Linked DNA regions of Homo sapiens: region 1 is linked to region 2. Evidence: promoter capture Hi-C in 16 types of primary human blood cells and fetal thymus (Javierre and others, 2016). All regions are on one chromosome and are shown on one strand. Each heading gives the region's core, a stretch centred on a gene start or on the middle of the fragment in contact. The rest is flanking DNA. Distances are from core to core; before and after follow the strand shown.

The links. Contacts are between HindIII fragments. The CHiCAGO score rates a contact against its expected background, and 5 or more counts as called.
Region 1: a fragment that was not itself captured here is called in contact with the fragment with the promoter of NIFK in region 2 in 1 of 17 cell types (naive CD8 T cells); the score reaches 5.5 in naive CD8 T cells.

Annotation. Positions count from the first base shown.
Region 1 is chr2:119,670,557-119,673,884 of GRCh38, forward strand. No RefSeq gene overlaps it. Among named protein-coding and RNA genes, the nearest start is that of TMEM177, 7.0 kb to the right of the region's middle. The HindIII fragment of the contact is 759 bases long and covers 1,446-2,204 here.
Region 2 is chr2:121,735,468-121,738,765 of GRCh38, forward strand. It overlaps NIFK (nucleolar protein interacting with the FHA domain of MKI67), which reads right to left and starts at 1,408. Exons shown (of 7, transcript NM_032390.5): 1 at 1,279-1,408; 2 at 146-283. The coding sequence starts at 1,383. RefSeq lists an enhancer at 1,295-1,344 and a silencer at 1,445-1,894. The HindIII fragment of the contact is 3,379 bases long and covers 1,108-3,298 here.

The sequences.
Region 1 (3,328 bases), core at 575-3,074, 2.1 Mb before region 2:
CCCAGGAGTCCGAGACCAGCCTGAGCAACATGGTGAAACCCCGTCTCTACCAAAAAAACAGAACAAAACAAAACAGAACAATTTAGCTGGGTATGGTAGCAGGTGTCTGTAGTCAGGAGGCTGAAGTGGAGGATCCCTGGAGCCTAGGAGGTCAAGGCTGTAGTGAGCTGTCTTAGTGCCAACTGCACTCTAGCCTAGGTGACAAAGCAAGACCCTGCCTCAAAAAAAAAAAAAAAGAGAGAGAGAGAGAGAATCTTAACTGTTACATTTCTGTGTCTATTTTTTTTTTTTTTTTTGGATTTTTGAGAGTTGCTTTAAGGCTTAGGAAGATTTTACTTATTAAATTTGAAACACTACTTTCTGTGGGAGACTTGATGGCTAGTTTTATGTGTCAACTTGACTGGGCCAAGAGACACCCAAATATTTGGTTAAACATTCTGAGCATGACTGTGAGGGTGTTTTGGATGAGGTTAACATTTGAATTGGTGGACTGTGCAAAGCAGGTTGCCTTCCCCAGTGTAGGTGCACCTCCTCCAGTCCATTGAAGGCCAGAATAGAACCAAAGGCACAGTGAGAAGGAATTCTCCTGCTCTGCCTGACTGTCTTAGAACTGGGACATCAGTCTTCTCCTGCCTTCTGACTCAGCCTCAGCCTTGGCTCTCCTGCCTTTTTAGCACTTTGGACTCAGACTGGAACTACACCATCAGCCCTCTTGGGTTTCCAGCTTGCCAGCTGCAAATCTTGAGTCTTCTCAGTGTCCATAATTGCATGAGCCAATTCCTTATAATGTCTCTTTAAATAAACATTTGCACGCACACACACACACTCACACACACACACCCGTGTGCATGCACACATATTCTACTGGTTCTGTTTCTCTGGAGAACCCTGACTAATACAGCAGGTTAACATATTTAAGAGAATCAGCTAAATTAAATTTGAAAGTGTGGTTTGAAATGTCTAAGGAAATTTGATCAATTAAGTACAGAAGTGGTACAGTATAATTAAGAAAGATTTAATCTGTAAACCCTAGGAATTAACTGAATGTTAATCAAAGACAAGTAGAAAAAAATCTCATTTTTTATACAAAAATTACTGGACTTATTAATAAGATGACAATATTTGTAAATTGGCACTTTAGGTTTAAGAGACATAGGGTATTCAAACTTACTGCTTTAATACAGTACTGAAAATGTTAGTAACTCTTAAGTATTCCTTTTATGTCCAAAAGCCCCCCAAGAAATTTTTTAAACCCATCTTATGCTGTGTCAACCATGGTTTCCTGGGGGCTTATCCATGTATTCATTTCCTGTTTATCCCCTAATCTAGCCCCGGTCACTCACCCTTGCAGGCCTCCCAGGGCCGTTTCACTGTGACTTTGGCAGGCTTGGTCCATCATCAGTAAACCCCCGCCCCACCTCCTCTCGTTTGCTTGCTCTCCGCAAAGCTTGGCTGTCTTTGCTGAGGACACCACAGCCCTCTCCAGTGAAGTCACTTTCTTCCCCATATTCCCCTGAAATCAGGGCAGAATGCATGTTCCCTTTTCTCCCCACAGCCATTTCCTCCTATACATACCCCAGCTCCTTTGAAACGCATGCCACCAGACCATTCCAGTACCCCCCATCCTTGCTGCTATCTACCAGCTTCCTGGTTGCTTCCTCTCATTCTTGAATTGTTTCAGTGCTGTGGTGTGATCCCTGATCTTTACCACTCCCCCTTTCCCCAGTGGCCAATGCCACTGAAAGAATAGTTTATTACTTGCAGTTCCTGAGAGGAGGGAGGCACACCATGCCACACAGAGCCACCCACCTGGGGAAACACCAGGTCAGTCAGGAGGGAGGCAGAAGGAGCCAGGGGAAGGCATGGCCCAGAGGCTTCATTGTGGTTTTTTGAAGGAATAGGCAAGGCAGGGTAGTCACACTGAAGCAAGCGTAGGATTGGGTAGTTAAGATGCTTTCAGTGGGCTGTGGAGGATAGGGGTATTCTCCAGTTGTCCAGTACCTAATCCTGGGGATATTTAGAGCCAGGAGAATACTGACTTGGAGTGTGAAAAGTAAATAAAAGAGGTGGTTGGGGTATGGGCTGTGGATTGGTTGGTTTGCATATGAAAGGCGTGCTCATGGGAGAGTCATTCGCCATCACTAGGAACCAGTGCCCTGGGAGGGGCAGTCTTTCCAGGATTAGTAAGGCCTCCCAGATGTCAAAGCTTCATAAAATATAGAAAATAAAAATGATTAATATACCCCCTAACTTTTAATCATCTTCTCTTCCACCTCACCGCAGCTCCCGCAGACATGCCCTTGACCTTGTCATCACCAAATGGATACCACCTCTGAAAGGTCCATTTCAAGACTCCCACCCACCCTGTACTCACCTCCTTATACTTCTACCTGGCTTACTATGGTGACCCCATTAGAACATTCCTTATGTTCCACCAGGCCAATGATCTCGCTATCTCTTCCTTCTGCAAAGTGTCTAGGAACAAAGTGCTTAGGAGCAGCACAGGGCACATGGTGTGTAACATTTAGGTGTTAAGTAAAATAGACACCCCACAGGCCCTCACTGTCCTCCCTGCTGGCTGAGAGTTCATGGTCCATCACTATGTCATCACTTCTTTGCAAACACCCTCACCAACCTTGCCCCTTTCTCTCCACTTTGTACTTGACTGGCAAACCCAGCTCTAATTAAACCCAACTATCCATCTATTTATTCTTGTACCTGAGCATCCCAACATTGTTGGAAAGAATCACACAACCATACTAACTTGTCTCACCAACGTTGTGGTTTTGTCCCAGATCCCAAATGGGCACTCAACGGTACACAACAATCATTTCATTTTCCTGGTAGAAAGGTCTTTCTTTTCCTCACCTAGAAATGTACATCTCTTCTGCTTTCTTCAAACCTTCACCACTCCCTCCCTACTCTGTCCCCACTGCACTTTCACCTGATGACCTCACTCCATAGATCACTGGGAAAAAGAAGCAGCATCCAATAAGGACAACCTCTCTTCCCAGCACGACTTCACCAGCCTGGGCCCATTGACCATAGCTTCCCTCCCGTTACAGTGAGGAAGTGCTCCTGACCCCCCTCCTCCTCCCTACCCCGGACCCATCCCCTCTTACCTACCCATGGAGAACCTTCCTGCAGTGGTCCCTCTCTCTGGCAACAAACAAAACAAACGAAGCCCTCCTTGCACCCCATGTGCACCTTGAACCATCACCCCATCTTTACTCCTCTTCACAGCCAGAAGAGTGGTCCATATTCCTCACTGCCCATTCTCTCTTCAACCATTCGAACATTCCTGCTCACCTCACAGATCAGCTCTCAT
Region 2 (3,298 bases), core at 158-2,657:
GCTGTTTCAGATTCTAAACCTCCTCCACTCTCCTTTTTGGAATGAAATCTGATAAGCAATAATGTATGCGTGAACGTGCTCTTTAATGTCAAGGATAATACACATTTGAAAAACAAAACATTAAATCCAACTGCAAAAATCTTACCCTTTTACTTCTGGACAGCCTGAACCGTGTCACAGTGCCAAACTGGGAGAAATATGAAAAGATCTGGGTTTCGTCAAGTAGGTTAGGTAGGTGGCGCACATAGACTACTCCAGGAGTAAGTTGTTCTTGTTTTTTTCGCTAAAGACGTAAAGACCAGGTAAATTAAATATATAAATAAGAAAATCACATTGTAACAAAACCCCTAGCCCTCGGCCCAAGAACCTATTCTGCATTTCCACTTACCACAGTAGTAATTAAAGAACTGGCTGTTTAGTGTTTCTCTCCCCACAAAGGCCATGGTCAAGCAGTAGTCAACTATCTTTCCAGCCTGGCATCCCAGCACCCAGTATAATATTAGAGCTCAATAACTATGTCAATCAACGGATAAGCAAGGACATCTTTGAACAAGCCATTTTAGATCTTCTGCCCAGAGAACTCTACATAAACGTAGGCTTCAATTTGGTATGCATATTACTGTTTACTCGCACTTCATCGAAAAATTTTCGATACGCTTGTTAACTCTCACGGTACAGATTAGCCTTTCAACGTCTCAGTCATCATAGCCTTACCTCTGTAACAGGAACTTCTAAGTTTTCCTGTGTATTTTATGCTAAAAACCACAGAAAGTATAAGCGATGTCAGGGGCCCTAGTCAGCAAGTGGAACCTGGCAAATACTCTATTTTAATAACTCCCAGATCACCAACCCGGCATACAAACTTCCCGAATGTGTTAAGTCTGGGGCTCCCATTTTTGGGGGAAACGCGGAAGCGTGACAGCTCTAACCCGGAGATAACCTGTGGTATAGGAGCCTATTCCCTCCAGCTGGTTCTTTCTACTGCTTCTGTCACCCCAATACTTCCCCGTTACCCTCCACATGAAGGCTCCAGGGCCTCAGCGGCCAAACCCCTCCATCATTTACCGAACAGCGTAAACCCTTTCGTCTCGGAAACCGTGGCCTGCAAGCTTAAGAGGTCGGTCCCTGATTCGGTCGAATCCACTTGGGAGACCCTGGAGGTAATGAAGGCGAGCACGAAGGCAAGGGGCGCCCGGGCCGGAAACCGTGCAACCCCAGATACCCTCTAGACCCGGTCCATCGCCCCCGCTCGCAGCCTGGGCCAGGGTGCCTGCTCACCTGGGTTATGCGCTTGCGAACCTGCGCCACCTCCTTTTGAAACTCGACATCTTCCTGCGGATTAAGCGACAGGATTGGCCCAGCCGGGCCAGAAAAAGTCGCCATGCCAAAAGCCGCCGACGCTAACCACGCGGCGCTCCCGGAAACGTCGGGCTCCCAGCTCCCCCGAGGCGGAAGTAGAGGCAGGACAGGGGCGGGGCGAAGCGCTAAGGCGAGGCGAGGCGTGGCGAGGGGCGGGGAGGGCCATGAGTCGGGCGCGGGGTTGGAGCAGGAGTTGCCCGGAGAAGCGGGGGCGGGGCACGGGGTGTGGCGAGGCGCGGGGCGGGGCATAAATTGCGCCAGGGGCGAGGGCGGGGCACGAGGTCGTGCCGAGAGACTGGGAGAGGCGTGAGTCGCGCGGAGGCGCGACATGGGGCGTGACGAGGAGCGGAGGGCGGGGCGTGAGTAGCGCCGAGGCGCGGAGGCGGGGCGCAGGGGCGTGCCGAGGCGCGGCAGCGGGGTCTGGGGCTGGGGCTGGGCCGTGGGGAGCTCCCGCACCCTCGGCTGTCGGGGCGCCGGCTGGCTTCGCTTAAGAGTGCCTGAAACAATTACGTTCACGCCTACTTTCAAAAAAGGTCTAAAATAAATTCCAAAACAGTACCTGTGTCCTTGAGATGCTGCTCTCATTCCTCAATTTGCTTATTATTATTATTATTTTTTTTTGAGACAGAGTTTCGCTTTGGTTGCCCAGGCTGGAGTGCAATGGCGCAATCTCGGCTCACTGCAACTTCCAACTTCCGCCTCCCGGGTTCAAGCGATTCTCCTGCCTCAGTCTTCCGAGTAGCTGATTACAGGCGCCCGCCACCACTCCCAGCTTAATTTGTACGTTACCACTCCCAGCTTAATTTGTATGTTTAGTAGAAACGGGGTTTCACCATGTTGGCCAGGCTGGTCTCGAACTCCTGACCTCAGGTGATCCACCCGCCTCAGCCTCCCAAAGTACTGGGATAACAGGCGTGAGCCACCGCGCCCGGCCCTAATTTGGTTATTCTTTCACTCACTTGTGTGTGAGCTCTCCTGTGTGGCCCCGTCCGTCCGCGGCCCTTGGAGAACTTACAGCCTGAGGGCAGCATGGCTGCTTTAAGAGACCAAAGAGGCTTGTGGGGGAGAGGCACACTGGGTGGCGCCGGAGGGTCCCCCTTAGGAGGTGGCGTTAGCACCGAGGCCTGAAGGCTAAAGAGCGGGGTGTGGAGAACCGAGCGCCTGCCGTCCGCTGGACCGGACAGGCCTGCACAGTGTTCCTAGGTCTAGAAAGAAGGACGCGGCAGTGGGGTTGGAGCCCAGCACAGGAGGGAAGAGCTGCGAGGCGGCAGGCTGGAGCCCCATGACTGTGTGTCAAAGTATGAAACTGGGGTTTTGTAAATGCGAGGGGATGGGCGGGTTTAAAGCGAGGCTGTGGCTGTTTGCATCTTTCTTTTCTTTTTTTTTTTTTGAGACGGAGTCTCGTTCTGTCGTCCAGGCTGGAGTGCAGTGGCGCGATTTTGGCTCACTCACTGCAACCTCCGCCTCCTGGGTTCAAGCAATTCTCCTTCCTCAGCCTCCCGACTAGCTGGGACTACAGGTGCACACCACTACTCCCGGCTAATTTTTGTATTTTTAGTAGAAACGAGGTTTCGCCATTTTGGCCAGGCTGGTCGAGAACCCCTGACCTTAAGTGATCTACCCGCCTCGGCCTCCCAAAGTGCTGGGATTACAGGCGTGAGCCACCGCACCCGGCCTGTTTGTACCTTTCAAATACTATTATACTAGTGAGTAACTGAGTGGAGAGGAAGGGTGGGGAGTGGATTGCCGAGGAAGCAGGGAGGTGAGGCGAGAGCGACAGATCAAGCACAGCTGGTGTCAGGGGATAGCTGCGGCCGTGTTCTGGAAGCCGTGAAGGCGGCCCAGGGTGTGTGTGCCCGAAGAGTGGCCTGTGGGCCTGAGGTGGAGGCCCTGGGAGGGAGTGCCAAGCGAGGCCAGCCCACTTCCTCTGACAGACGTG